2 separate regions of the Homo sapiens genome follow, and region 1 is linked to region 2. The links are contacts of gene promoters, found by promoter capture Hi-C in blood cells and fetal thymus (Javierre and others, 2016). All regions are on one chromosome and are shown on one strand. The core of a region is centred on a gene start or on the middle of the fragment in contact, and the rest is flanking DNA. Distances in the headings are between cores, read along the strand shown.

Region 1 (7,595 bases), core at 3,932-6,431, 540 kb before region 2:
GTGCGTGATTTCACTCAGATCTTATGAGGAGCTATACAAAAAGTCTCACAATTGGCTGCCCAAGGGGCAAAAGAGAGAAATGTTTGACCATTGTCTCATGGTTCTTTTTGATTGAAGGTTTCCCTACAAGACATTAATATTCCCACACTTCTAGATTGCCATGCAAGACTGCTGAGAGTACAAGCTTTAGCAGGCATCTTAGGTGACAGCATCAGAAAAGCTGGAGGTTATAGAAAGAGAGCTTAACATATCAATATTCCATCACATATCAATATTCAATATTTTTGAGTCACAAAAAAATCCCCCTCGAGTGTTAGCTCCCTCCAGAAACCTTTTTTACATCAACAGGCATCAATACTTTCTATACCCCACCAACTAGTATGAGGTGATATCCCAAGCCATCTATTGGATCATTCACTGTTACTACTATGACCTCTAGAAGATTGTCTAGAATATACTTAATATATATTTATTTTATAAAGAAAGGCAAAAAGCAATCCAATAAGCCTAGCTGTTGTTCAATTACAACTACACTGTAGAAGAGGCACAGAATAACATCTGGGACTTTGCCTTTTTGCTAATACCAGAGGATGAAAAATCAGCTAGTTTTATTTCATCAGCAATTGTGTCTACTACATAGCACTTTTCTTCCAAATTATGTCCATATCTACCATCTTAATATGTTCTTTGGGGGACAATAGAAAATATAATTATCACATTTCCTACCTTGTTGATATTTCCACTGAGGAATTCATCCAGGGGTAATCGTGGCAGTGATGGCCGGAGCCGAGACAAACAAACACTGCAGATGGGAAGTTTGCAGCTGCTTTCCTTTTTAAACAGCTTTACTTTCCACATTTGTGCTCCTCATTCACACTTCCTGTTGCCTCTCCTTATGCAAGAATAATCTCTTCTTTTTTTTTTTTTTTTCTGGTGGCAGTAGCATTTATTAGAATGTTCTCTTAATGTATAAAGCCCAGCCCAGGTTTTTTTGTTTTCTTAATCACACCATTCTAAAGACAAAGGTGGAATGCGTTATCTCTTGCTCTCTTTTGTCCTTTCTATAAATATTTCATAATAATTTACCTTATCTTCCCAACTTAAGCCTCTCAATGGAACATGGTCCTTGAGGAAAGCAGTGTAACTACCTAAGAATAGGCTCCAGAATCAATCTGCCTGGGTTAAAATTTCCATTTTAGTACTGACTAGCCAGCTGAGTGACTTGGGCAAGTCACTTGGTCTCTCTGTACTTCAATTTCAATGAGTCTAATAATAGAACTTACCTTATAGGTTTTATGAGAATTAAATGAGATAATGCATGTAAAGTGCTTAACACATAATGGGCATATAGAAAATGCTTTTGTTTTTTAAGGGTGGTCAAAGTAGGATCCTTACCCTTACAGGAAACTGCTACCTCCTGTCATTGTGGGACAGAAGGCTGCATCTCCATCCCAGCTATTAAAAAAAAAAAAAAAAAAAAAAAAAAAAAAAAAAAACTCTCTAGGACATCAATGGAAATCAAAATTAATTTTCTTTTAAGAATTTTTCTAAGATGGTGACACTCTGCAGTGATTAAAGACAAGCCAAGGTATTACAAAATCAGGGAGGAAAGTAGAGCTCCAGGGACACGAATAATCACCAGGCTATTTAGGGACATGATACCTCTATAAAGCAGCTTAATGTCAGGCTGACATTTTGTAATGGCATATTTCAAGAACATGCAATTTTCTGTCATGTTAAGCTCATAACTCTTTTGATAGCATCCACTCTGATATGATCCAGCTTTCTCTCTCCAACTCAACAGCTGTTTGATTGCCCCACCGTTCAACACATCTTAGTATCCCTCATTTCCCACCATGTTTTAATCTTTATTTTCCAGTTCCTTGTTACAAAGAAATACTAAAAGGTCAAGCCTAATCCCAGACAGGAGCAAGGAGACAGGAATGAGAAAAAAAGTGCTCAAGAAAGTGATTCCTCTTTCTCTCTGTTGAAGGCAGACTTTGAATGGCCTGCACTTTTTATTCCATAAGAACTGAGGGAAGTTGCCTTTCCTCTTGCTCAGGGAAAAAGTGAGCACCTCCTGCCTTTCACTTTTTCCCTCTACTTCAGCATCTGTAGAGAGAAAAAGTTAGGTTGGCACATATTTAAAAGCAGCACTTATAAATGTGTATTTCAGTGTACACATTTCAGTTCTTAAAAAATAGCTTTGATGGGCCAGGCATGGTGGCTCACGCCTGTAATCCTAGTACTTTGGGAAGCCGCGGTGGGTGGATCACCTGAGGTCAGGAGTTCAAGACCAGCCTAGCCAAATAATTTACAGTAAAATCAAATTTCTATTTCAATACAACATATCAGATCAATTGTATCTTTATGGTTGTTTGTTGCTATAAATTTATTGATACCAGGAAAATTGTCACATTTAAAATTCTTAATAGTTTTGGCACAGGTGAAATCTTCTCGTTTTGCTAAGTCCCTGAGCTCTTTGAACAGGCTGACCTTATGCATCGGCCTCTTCCCCAGGCACCCTGGTCCCCTCTTTCCAGAATGCTACCTGCTCTGGCCTCAAGGCTACTTTTACTCCCCCTCACGTTAAATTTAGGTGAACATTTAATGCTATCACATATCTAGCCAATGGTGTTCTGCAGAAAACATGCAGCTTCTCTGACAAGAAAACTAAGAGTCCCCACCCCAAAGAGGACTTCATACCATTTTCCCGATGCTTGCTGACAAGGAAGAGGAACCAGATAAGGATATTTTTTGTGTATCCTCCTTATTATTCATAAAATTGCCTGTAATTGTCAGTGTTGTAATGTCTTCAAAGTTTTATGTCTCAGATGCTCATCAAAGCATTGGATGGCAAAAAGGTCAACATCCACATCAAACTTATTGGCAAACAAGTAGTGCTTGAGTAGCATCCAGTTCAAGTCTCCAGCTCCAGAAAATGCACACTGAGCACACGTGGACCCCATCACACGGTGGTCATGGAGCACCCTAGGAAACATACACTTAAAGTTCTACCACTTGACAGAGCTAGCAATTGCGTGCATGTCAGAGAAATAGTACTTATGGCTTTGAAGAGTAAGCCGGGCACTTCAGGGAATCCTCTGGACACTGGCCCAGAGATACTCATCTCATACAGATACAAATACTGTATTAGTGCACTCTTGATTGTACGTGGGTCACTAATGTACCCAGCTAAGTTTCCTATCCTCCCTTAGAGCTTAAAATGTGGCCATGGGACTAAATTCTGGAAAATCAGATGTAAGCAGAAGTGTTAGAGTATTATATTGACCTCTGGAAAATCTCTTGAAGAGTAGCATGACCTCCAAATCTTCCTTCTTTCTGAAGTCTAGAATGTCCATGAGATGTCTTGAATTCCAGAAGTCATCTCGGACTACGAAGTCACCTTGAGAATTAAAGATACATGCTAAGATGGTGAAGCAAAATGATGAAAGAAGTTTAAATCCTTAACTATAAAACCACCATACTAGCCTGGAAATGTTCAGTAAGAAACTTTCTGTTAATGACAGAAATAATTTATTTTGCTTAAACCTCTGCTTTTTAATAAGTTGTCTGTTATATGGAGCTAAATCTAATCGTGATATAAGTGTCAAGATTTCCCTGAACTACATATTTCAATATGTTTTATTAAGTGTATCTGATTTTGTTCATAAACTCTTAGACTCCTTCTCAAACAAAACCAGGATTTCTTGTATTATATTTATCTTATTTCAGTCTAATAGATTTGATAAATTATAAGTTTATAAAATACATTTTTGCAATCCAGTGAAACTGTGTTAAAATTTTTTAATCCAAAGAAATATCATGGGAAGCAGAAAAATATACAACCATATTTTTCTAAGTTAGCAAAATAATAAGAAAAGATATTTTATATATTTCTTTTGAACCATTACCTCTCATCTTAAAACTATTTCCATGAGGCAGTTTCTACTTACACTAAATGGAAACCAAATTAGTTTGCAGATTTTTACATCTCAATTCCTAGGGAGCTACACATCTGTTATTGTCCACTTTTACACAGAGAACAGACTATTCACTATCAAACTCTGACTGTTTGCCTCTGTCAGAACACTGACTGTCAGTAGAACACTAAACTCTCAAGGCCAAATGTTCTCCTTTCTGTTTATTCCAGCACTTTGTCATTATTTAGCAACCTCACAGAATTCTCCCTTCCGACAGAAGCATTTCCTGCTTTTTAAAAAGGTCTAAAATAGAGAGACTATATATTCACAGAAGGCAGAGTGGTCTCTCCTGAATATACTTATGGCAAATTGGTCTTGCAGACCATGTGTGGAAAGTAAACCTCTGTAGTTTATTCTCAAGCTCACCAGAGACTTTTACCTTGCAGGTCTGTCAGTCCAGGCCCTTTAGCAAAGAGTCATTGCTTCATATCAAATGAATACTGTCAGATCCCACCACACCTATCAGGCTCTGCTTGGTTGGTTTAAGAGCTATGTTAATGTGATGCACCTGCCAGTTAGCAAGCAACGGAAGGCACAAACACATTTGTGATACATAAAAAAAAAAAAAAAAAACTTCACTGAAACAAAAAATTAATTAGAGTCTGAGTAAATTTTTGCCACAGGAAAAACTGTGAAGTTATTTTGTTCAAGCTTTTGTTTATATTCAGTGACATGCTTATATTGTGTGTTTTCTAATATTTTGTCCCTTCATCCCTTTGACCTTGAAAGTGGCCTATTTTCCTTAGGATAAAGTAAGAACTGTTTAAAATGATGTGCAAGTTTTGCATGGGCAGACCTCAGCTAACCCAATAGCCCCCATCTTCTTCACCCTTTATCAGAACACTCTTTAAACTATTTTGCATTTACCTTGTAAACACTGGCCATAAATCATACCAGTCCTTTCCTCATACTCTAAGTTTCATGAAGGTAGACACCCTATCTGCCTCGGCCATCATCATATCTGCAGAGCAGTACATGGTGTCTGACACATGGTAGGTTCTGAAATTTTTTTCTGAGTTAAAAATAATTTAAAAGTCCTTCAGAATATTCAGCTATGTATGCTGTTGCCCTGAGCCTACTACTACACCTATACTTAGGAGATAATCATAAGTATTTGTGAAATTTTAAAAAGTATCTTAATAATATAATCAGTGAGTGAATAGTCTAATCTGAAATATTTCCAGAAGTATTTTTCACAGTACACTAGTGCGATAAGATACCCATAAGCTAGGCATTGGACTAAGTGCTTTACATTCATCTTCTTATATAATCTGTGTAATAACCCAAGGAGATACATCATTATTGCCATTGTACAGATGGAAAAACTGAAGTTCAGTGAGTTTAAATAACCAGTCTAAAGTGATATTGTTCATGAGTGGCAGACCCAGATCTGGAATCTCTGACTTGTCTTTCTTTAGATCACTACACAGTACTCTATTGCCCTTTCAGGAATTCACCATGTGCGGTAGCACAGTAAAAACTCTAAGAATTCCTGCAATAACAGCATTAAACCAAGGAATTCTTCTTTCTCACATGACAAGGCTTTCAAAGAGTATACCAGTCTAATGGTTCCCAGAGTGGAGTATACAGACTCCATTGTGATATTGGAAGAAAATATTAATTCTCTTTTTATCTCGATCCTTTAATTTCTATTTTTTGTGGGTTTCATGAGGTCTACATTATATGAGAAGATGTATAGAATTTTAAGTAAATAATGTCTGTGAAGCAAGATTAAACAAGCTTGGAGACCACTAATCTAGACAATTATCTTCCAAACATAATTTGAGATTTTTATTCCTTCTATTGATTTCATGGGACTGATTTCAAGTAACTGATTTCAAATTATGGTTAAATTATGCTTAAACTGCTTGGGATTTAGCATATATTATATACATAATTTATTATATAATTTCAACTAGCTGTGATTGATGGAGGAAACAATGAAGTGGCTTTTTTATTGTAATTATTATTATACTTTAAGTTCTGGGATACATGTGCAGAACATGCAGGTTTGTTACATAGGTATACATGTGCCATGGTGGTTTGCTGCACCCATTAACCTGTCATCTAGGTTTTAAGCCCCACTTGCATTAGGTATTTGTGCTAATCCTATGCCTCCCCTTGCCACCCACCCCCTGATAGGCCTCGGTGTGTAATGTTCCCCTCCCTGTGTCCATGTGTTCTCATTGTTAACTCCCAATTATAAGTGAGAACATGTGGAGTTTGGTTTTCTGTTCCTGTGTTAGTTTGCTGAGAATGATGGTTTCCAGCTTCATCCATGTCCCTACAAAGGACATGAACTCATTCTTTTTTATGGCTACATAGTATTCCATGGTATATATGTGCCACGTTTTCTTTATCCAGTCTAACATTGATGGGCATTTGGTTTGGTTCCAAGTCTTTGCTATTGTGAATAGTGCTGCAATGAACATAGGTATGCATGTGTCTTTATAGTAGAATGATTTATAATCCTTTGGGTATATACCCAGTAATAGGATTGCTGGGTCAAGTGGTATTTCTAGTTCTAGATCCTTGAGGAATCACCACACTGTCTTCCACAAGGTTAAACTAATTTACACTCCCACCAACAGTGTAAAAGCATTCCTATTTCTCTAAATCCTCTCCAGCAACTGTTGTTTCAGTTTCAGTTTTCTGCATATGACTAGCCAGTTTTCCCAGCACCATTTACTAAATAAGGAATCCTTTCCCCATTGCTTGTTTTTGTCAGGTTTGTCAAAGATCAGATGGTTATACATCTGTGGTGTAATATCTGAGGCCTCTGTTCTGTTCCATTGGCCTACATATCTGTTTTGGTACCAGTACCATGCTGTTTTGGTTACTGTAAACTTGTAGTATAGTTTGAAGTCAGGTAGTGTGATGCCTCCAGCTTTGTTCTTTTTGCTTAGGATTGTCTTGGGTATATGAGCTCTTTTTTGGTTCCATATGAAATTTAAAGTAGGTTTTTCTAATTCTGTGAAGAAAGTCAATGGTAGCTTGATAGGAATAGCATTGAATTTATAAATTACTTTGGGCAGTATGGCCATTTGCACGACATTGATTCTTCCTATCTATGAGCATGGAATGTTTTTCCATTTGTCTGTGTCCTCTCTTATTTCCTTGAAGAGTGGTTTGTAGTTCTCCTTGAAGTGGTCTTTCTCATCCTTTGTCAGTTATATTCCTAGGTATTTCATTCTCTTTGTAGCAATTGTGAATGGCAATTCACTCATGATTTGGCTCTATGTGTGTCTATTATTGACGTATAGGAATTCTTGTGATTTTTGCATATTGATTTTGTGTTCTGAGACTTTGCTGAAGTTGCTTATCAGCCTAAGGAGATTTTGGACTGAGACGATGGGGTTTTCTAAATATACAATCATGTCATCTGCAAACAGAGACAATTTGACTTCCTCTCTTCTTATTTGAACACCCATTATTTCTTTCTCTTGCCTTATTGCCCTGGCCAGAGCTTCCAATACTATGTTGAATAGGAGTGGTGAGAGAGGGCATCCTTGTCTTATGCCAGTTTTCAAAGGGAATGCTTCCAGCTTTTGCCCATTCAGTATACATTGAATATGGGTTTGTCATAAATAGCTCTTATTATTTTGAGATATG
Region 2 (7,411 bases), core at 2,388-4,887:
GATTAACATAACCTGTGTGTGTGTGTGTGTGTGTGTGTGTGTGTGTGTGTGTGTGTGTGTATATGAGGTTTTGGTGCTCTCAAGAATTTGTAGATATTATCACAATAAGTAGAATGATGCCATTAAAAGAAGGAAACAAGGACAACACCAGCTACCAATTTTTTAAAATTAATGGTGTTATAAAAATGTCTTCTGTGAATAGACAGTAGAGACTCAAAAGGGTGGAGTGGGATGAGTGATGAGAAATTACTTAACAGGTACAATGTATACTATTCCGGTGATGGCTACACTAAAAGCCAAGACTTCACCACTATGCACTATATTCATGTAACAAAACTGCACCTGGACTCCATAAATCTTACAAATAAAAAGAAATGTATTCTGTGGCACTCTCCTTCTAAAAATAGCTTGGGCTGTTTTGGAATAATTTTTAACTTATTATATGTGATTGCAAGCTCCTTATGTGCCTTGGAATTCAGAATTTCATGCTTCCACTTTCACAACTGACTTCATTTAACTTTATGAAGCTTGTGCTAAATATATAAATGCTTAAGGATATGTGAAAATCATTGAAAATGCTAAATTAAAATGATTTTAAACTAGTTTTAAATTGTATCAACTTTACAAAATAATTTTTTTCAGGGAGTTACGCTGTTTTCTACTCATTGCTTACTTAGGTTTATCGAAGGGGCAGATGAGAGGAGAAATTCCCTTTCTGAAACAAATGAAAAGGACACACAAAAATATTCTTCAGTTTCCCTGCCAATGTGTGTTTCCGCTCAGCCCTGAATTCACTGATTTTCTACCTGTCCTCACTCCAATATTTTTTAATCATCGGTTTTAAATCTTAATTCTGTAAACAGATCTACCATTTTCTTAGAAAATGAGGTATTTCTGGGAAGAACTGAAAAGAAATGGGGACTGGATTCATGAAAGGAACTTTTGGGGGCCTTTGTGAACAGGAGTTCTAGAACCACTAGGGAAGCTCAAATATTACTCCTTATAATTTTTGTATGATGTTATCTTCAATAAAGGGTGTCAATGTAGTCTTCCTGTTAGGTATGTCATAATTAGATGCATATAAAGGAGGAACAAACCCATGCAGCTTCTAGAACAACAACAAATCGGGAGAAAGGTAGGGTGGAAGTATCCTTCTGTCGTGGTTGTTATGTTCTTATGCTGACCTGAAACCATATTTTTGTGATTCATGAAGGTCATAAGAAAGATTATTTCCTTCACTGAACTTGGCTATTATTCTCACAAGTCAGTTATTCCCTTGGTCTCATTGGGCATGTTTTCACCCTATTTCCTTATCAGTTAGTGCTGGGAAGACAAGAACTTTGTATTTTATACACTGTACTGTAACATATAATATATGTAAACATGAAACAAAAACAGATTCATTGTGATTTCATTTTCTCCCACAGTGAAAGAATAGATTTAATCCTTTACCTAATTTGCATCCTTTGCTCTTCCAATCCTGTTCAATAATTCATCAGAAGGCAGTAACTTAGTGGTAAACAACATATTGTTTCCCCTTGTTGGTACTTAGTAAGCTTTAGCTTCTGCAATCTGTTCTCATGAAATGAATCCCATAATTCCTTTAATCATTTTAGTTACTCTTCTCTGGATCCATTCAATTAGATTACAACTTTTTGGCAGGAGAAGTACTTGAGTTGAACGGTCTTTCCATATGTTGTCTCAGAAGAGTGGTAAGAGAAAGACTTGTATCATTTACATTCATGGCTCAATGACTATATTCATTTTGACTAAGATAGCTTTCTGGATATAGTACAGATTGAACAAATGCTTGTGAATGAAAGTGTTTAATATGGACTTATTGACCATTTATTATTTTTCTAATCTATTTGTTAAGCCCTTTACTGACATTTGGTTTTTCCTTTGGAAAAACTGATTCTAAATAATGGTAATACTTTTAAAATATGTATCATGCTAATACCATAAATTAGGTTATACACCATATGTCCAACCAAGCTTTAGAACACTTTTTACAAAAATGGGCAAATCAAGGTTCAGGAAAGGATATTATAAAAAAATCATGGATACACATTGAGAAGAAGAGATTGTCAAAATAAGGTAAGGAAAAGAAGATGAAATGAATCAAATTGCATATTCAATAACAATAAAACTCCCAGGAGAAAATTTGGGTAAGTAGTACTATAAAGGAATGATTTTTTTAAAACATGTCCCAATATGTAACTGAACATGTAAACCAGCTTGGAGTTCTTTTCTTTGATATAGGAAAGGGAACATTTCTGAAACAAAAACGAAATTTTTCACAAAACATTTTTTTCCATAGCTCAATGGCACCTGTTTTGCATGGAGACAAGCACATGCAAGAAAAAGTTGTAAAAGTGGAAGCAAATGTGGTCTCAGAAGAGGATTGAGAAAAACTTAGGTAAGGCTCTGGTACAAGACATTGTGGGAATTAAACACCCTACTAGAGATCTGGGGGAAAGCACCAAGAGCAAGTCAAATACTAGGATAGGAGATAGAATCCCTTTTCTTGGGGAGGTTCAAGAGTCCAAAACAGCCATATTCAGGATGCAGTTTCAGGCTGGCATCAGCATCAGAACTAGGTCCAAATTCAAGATCTGGTTGTAGATCAGGCTACACAGAGCAGAAGCTTTAGAGTCAGTCATGGAACAAGTACCAATGGAATGGAAATAGGAATAGTTAATCACTGTCTTTAGGAAATGGGGCTTTTGAAATGGGCCAAGAGAGTCAGGCAGGATTGAGTGGTTGTAAGTATTGGCTTGGTCTTCCTCAGGCCCAGAAGACCAGGAAGAAGTGATTAGCCATGGAGACTATACACTTCCACATGGAAAATGCTTAGAGAGAATTTGGTTTGGTTCAGAAGAAACTGCATATCCTCCTTCATCAACAATACTTGAAGTTGAGTTGATAGCAGCAGAAGTGTGATTTCAAACCCCCTTTACTAGTGAAGAGAAAGCATTCCCTATTTCCTCTACTGAGTTAGGATTGTTTATGGGACCATATGGGGCAGCCTGTAGATGATTCTGTGTTCATTGTGCACAGTGGGGATGGTCTGGGATTTGTCACAGACTGACATCGGAGAATTGGAAAAGCTAAAGAAAGATATTTCAGTTTTATAATGAAGGTCCAGAATTAATTTGGAGGCCAGAGGGACCTAGAAAAGAAAATAAAAATGAGAATTACAAATGAGTGGATCTTTGCCATTGGTAAAAATCTGGGTCACTTATAGCTGTATTTTTCCATCTGTGCTTTTGTCTGTGGGCTTTGATAGCATAGTCGTCTAATAAGTGTTTCATCATCTGAATCTGACAATAGATATCATTCCAGAATACAATTGTTATGTAACAAAAATTCTGTATGTTGGAGAAAAAAATCAACCAACACAATTTTAAGCTTTGTATGTCTTTTGTTTGCAGGGAGTCAGGCGTAAACAAGCATTTGTCATTCGATTCTTCTAGTGCATTTCCAGCATACTGTGCCTTGGGCATGACACATCAGAATCTGATGTTTATCTTTTATTACCTGCCAGACCCCTCTGGAAAAGCCTCTATGGAATTCATCATCTGCAGTCTTTGTTGTAGGTACACATATAAATACATGTTGAATGCATTTGTTGAGGATATTGTGGTTTCTAACGCTGAACTTAAAAAGTGTTGAGATGAATAATGAAGAGGACCTTCTGCAGGAGGTATGAAGCTAATCATTAAAATGTTTTTAACCAAAATATTGACAGTAAATCTTTTTAAAAAATGTCAATTATTTGAATGCCAGTAAGAATAAGGGCAGCATAATTATACTTGTTATATGTCCACTCAGGAGAAGTTTATGAAGAATTGCCCTTCTGTACTACACAGTGAATTTATAAAGATAATAAAAACTAAACAATTCAAAATATTCATCTAGGAAAGCTCATTTGGTTTGAATAATCATTTAAGTTCAATAGGCACTGAGTTTCAGAAGCATAAGTATGCTATAAAAAAATTTATTTCTATTTTGGTTGTTATTGAGAGAATAATCTTTGTTTTTCTCAAAGCTTTGGCCTCTTTCTAATAAATATGCTTTGAGATTAAATGACTAAAGGTGGAAACCTGTTTTCAAATTATATTTGAAATGCACAGCATGAATAATGATAGCCACTTATAGGGTCTAGCATATATTAAAATAATCAGTTGTCAACATATAACATTTCTCCTCACTTCTTAATGTGTGTGTACCCAACCTTCACTCTTGTATTTCTGACTGACCATTCTGAAAGACTGAAGTGCAGACTTGGAGGCAAGCTGTGGTAAAATTTGGGAGGATGTGAGTTATCTTTAGTAGGTTAAGAAAATATAATGCAAGAAGCATACCTACTATGTGAAGAGTGCAGTGGAAGACCAGTGCATTATGTATGAAATAGTGGCATATAGAGAACAAACCTGGTCCCCACTTTTGCATGTAGTGGAGAAGATAGCTAACATCTAAGAATGGGTTCACTGATCTGTATAGTGAATACAAGCAGTTGTTTTGAAATAGAGTCAAGAACAAATGCACTTTCCCTAAGGGAAACTGGGCAAGGCTATGTGAAGAAGGCACTCCCTGAGGAGGAGCTGTGGCTTATCCTGTACTGTCATGTCACTGTTGTAGGCATCAAATGGTGGACATGTTTATGTGATTATAATGAATTTAGCTAAAAGTAAATTCATAGCTGCAAAGGAAGGCTTATAGAAAGAAAGTAAAGGTAATTAGCATATACATCATTAGCTTTTTGGGATTTTGATTTCTAACTATGTAACTTCTTGGACTAGTTTTACTTACTACTTCTGATCCCATGGCAGAACTCTGCTTTCTTCCCCAGCTCCCACAATTTTAGTCCAGGATTCCAGGTGATACAGCTCCCATGAAAGTCCTTAAAAGCCATGCCCTCCTCAAGACCAGTCTAGACCAAATGTTGATTGTTTACTCTTAGGAGAGCAGAAAAATGAACAATATGATTTTTAAACTGCACAATTCTCACAGCAAGAGACATTCTCTGTCTTTTGAGGAAAAGTTCCCTCAAAGTTGGAATAGAGCATTGTATTTACTAGATGTAATAAAGGTGAATCTTGGCTGGCCACTTGACCCAACTCCACTGAATAAGCTCTTTTATACTCTCCTGTATAGGTTCGCATTCTCAGGAAGTGAAAGAATATGGAAGGAGGGAGAGAGATGACATGTGACATTCCTTTTCCAGCTAACAGATGTTTGGAAAAGGACAAGACTGTGTTTCATGCTAGATGCTCTGGTAATGTGAGCAAGAGCAGCATGAAGTTAACTACAAAACACAGCAGCTGAACAAAAGCTCAGTGGATTCCGAAGGGCAGATTGTGTATATGGAGAAAATCCCTCAGAATACTTACTTCCCCAGTCTGAAGAAATTCTTTGTCAGAATATTCAGTAAAATGAACAGTTATTAATCTTAGGTTTGGTACTCCCCTAAAGAATATTTTACTGAGATTCTCTATTTAAAACAATGCTGTAAAGTCATGCATTCAGCTACATTCTTAGCAGTGGCAGACAAAAAATAGATTGAAAACACATTCTTACTTCTTAAAGTAGATCCTATGGGTGTATGAAATTGTGAAATTGAGTGAAAGAGTGGCATATCATAACAATTAAAATCTGTTTATCAAGAACCTTGTGTGTGGTGCTGAGCTGGGTAATATGTCAAGTGAGTAAGATCTGTTCCCCACCCTGCAGATATTTATAACTCAATACAGAGAACACTGACACAGGTAGACACAGTTCTGACGTTTCCATATCACAGAAGGAATGAATGCCATCTGGGGTGAAGTCAGAGACTCATCCTGCTCTGCAGCCTGTATCTGTTGGGGGCATGAAGTGCAGCCCCATGGGAGGCTCTACCTGACCTTCTAGAGGCTTGCTTCAAGAGGCTAGAGATTTACCTACCCCAGCTTTCCCTGCTTTATGCTATTGTCTGTGTGACTCTAGAGACCTCCTGATTCTTGTTTTGTATTTTCCATTTGTTTTGTCTCTGAGAATTCAGAAGATTTGTCTTCTGAAGATTTCAAGGTTTATAGTTCATTTTATAATTATTTACCTCAAACTTACCTACTTCCAGTGTATCAACTAGCTCTCCATTTAAGAATTCTCAGTGGAGAGACAAGACAAAAATTAGATTTGAGTTTCAAGGGCAGTGGATTAAGCTCGCACTTCCTGAAATGAGAATGCCTGCATTTTAATCTTGGCTCTGCTACTTACTAGCTGTGTGACATGGGGCAAAGTATTGGACTTCTCTGTACCTCACTGGGACATTAATAGTGCCTACAGGAAGGGATTTTGTGGAGATTAAATGAGTTAATACATGTAAAGTGCTTAGAACTGTGCTTACAATATAGTGAGAACTCATTAAAAAGGAGTCATTCATTACATATACTTTATTATGTTATGTTGACCTCTAATAGCTCTCCTGTTTTCATTTTTACAGCCTTAAAGAGTTTTACATGTTTTCCTTTACATGATAGAATTTGTTTGCTTATGATAGTAATGATAACAATTATATATAATATACCTTTTTACATAAACATATATCCATCCACTTCTAGCCTATTAAGGCTTTCCTAAGGCACAATGACTAGAACTATTTTTAGCAATCAGTTACAGGCATATCATAATTTTTTTAAAGGGTAGAGCACCTTCCCCTCTCACATTTAAAGTATTTTTATATTCATATTTGCAGTATTTTTATATGCTGCAGCAGCCCATTAGCTGATATCTTCACGAACAGTTCCATAACATTCTTGGATCTTTTTTCATACTATATTACAGAGCCCATTATCATAAATATATATTATATATACATGAATATTTAAATTTTTTCTACATGTCTTTTTACCTTTGAAATATTTTTGTTGCTTTTCTGCTCACCCACAAAGCCTTCACAAATTATTTTTGTCCTGTCTACATGGATAAATATATTTTTAGCCATACGATCTTAATTTCTCTAAAAAATATGGAGAATTCTTCTTTGATTTAATTATGAACATACTAAATAAAACAAAACTTTTTGCTTCCTTTATTATTTTAGTGTTCTTTATTATTTAGCTTCATATTATCAAAATCACATGGTGTTAGACCTTTGTAAAATTATGTTTTTCCTTCTCTGAAAATGTTTGGTTAGGTATATTTTTCTTGTGTAGAACTTCTATTGTAGATTTTGCATAACTTGCCCACAGAGGTGAGATTTGTTTATGGGTTGATACACACTGTTGACTATTAGCCAATTTGTTAGAAATAAAAACGAGACTCATAGCTTTTCATATGGGAGCAGCTATATCATTTACATTCTGATACTTCTTTCACACAGAGCTCTCAGTAATGATCGTTGCTCTATCATTCTCGGTCACATATGAAT

Evidence for each region. Contacts are between HindIII fragments. The CHiCAGO score rates a contact against its expected background, and 5 or more counts as called.
Region 1: a fragment that was not itself captured here is called in contact with the fragment with the promoter of LGSN in region 2 in 6 of 17 cell types (M2 macrophages, naive CD4 T cells, M0 macrophages and 3 more); the score reaches 7.8 in M2 macrophages.

What each region holds. Positions count from the first base shown.
Region 1 is chr6:63,852,977-63,860,571 of GRCh38, reverse strand. The region is part of intron 36 of EYS (eyes shut homolog); the gene reads left to right. It also overlaps the pseudogene GCNT1P4. Among named protein-coding and RNA genes, the nearest start is that of SCAT8, 50 kb to the right of the region's middle. The HindIII fragment of the contact is 1,089 bases long and covers 4,637-5,725 here.
Region 2 is chr6:63,316,209-63,323,619 of GRCh38, reverse strand. It overlaps LGSN (lengsin, lens protein with glutamine synthetase domain), which reads left to right and starts at 3,637. Exons shown (of 4, transcript NM_016571.3): 1 at 3,637-3,706. The coding sequence starts at 3,677. The HindIII fragment of the contact is 640 bases long and covers 3,414-4,053 here.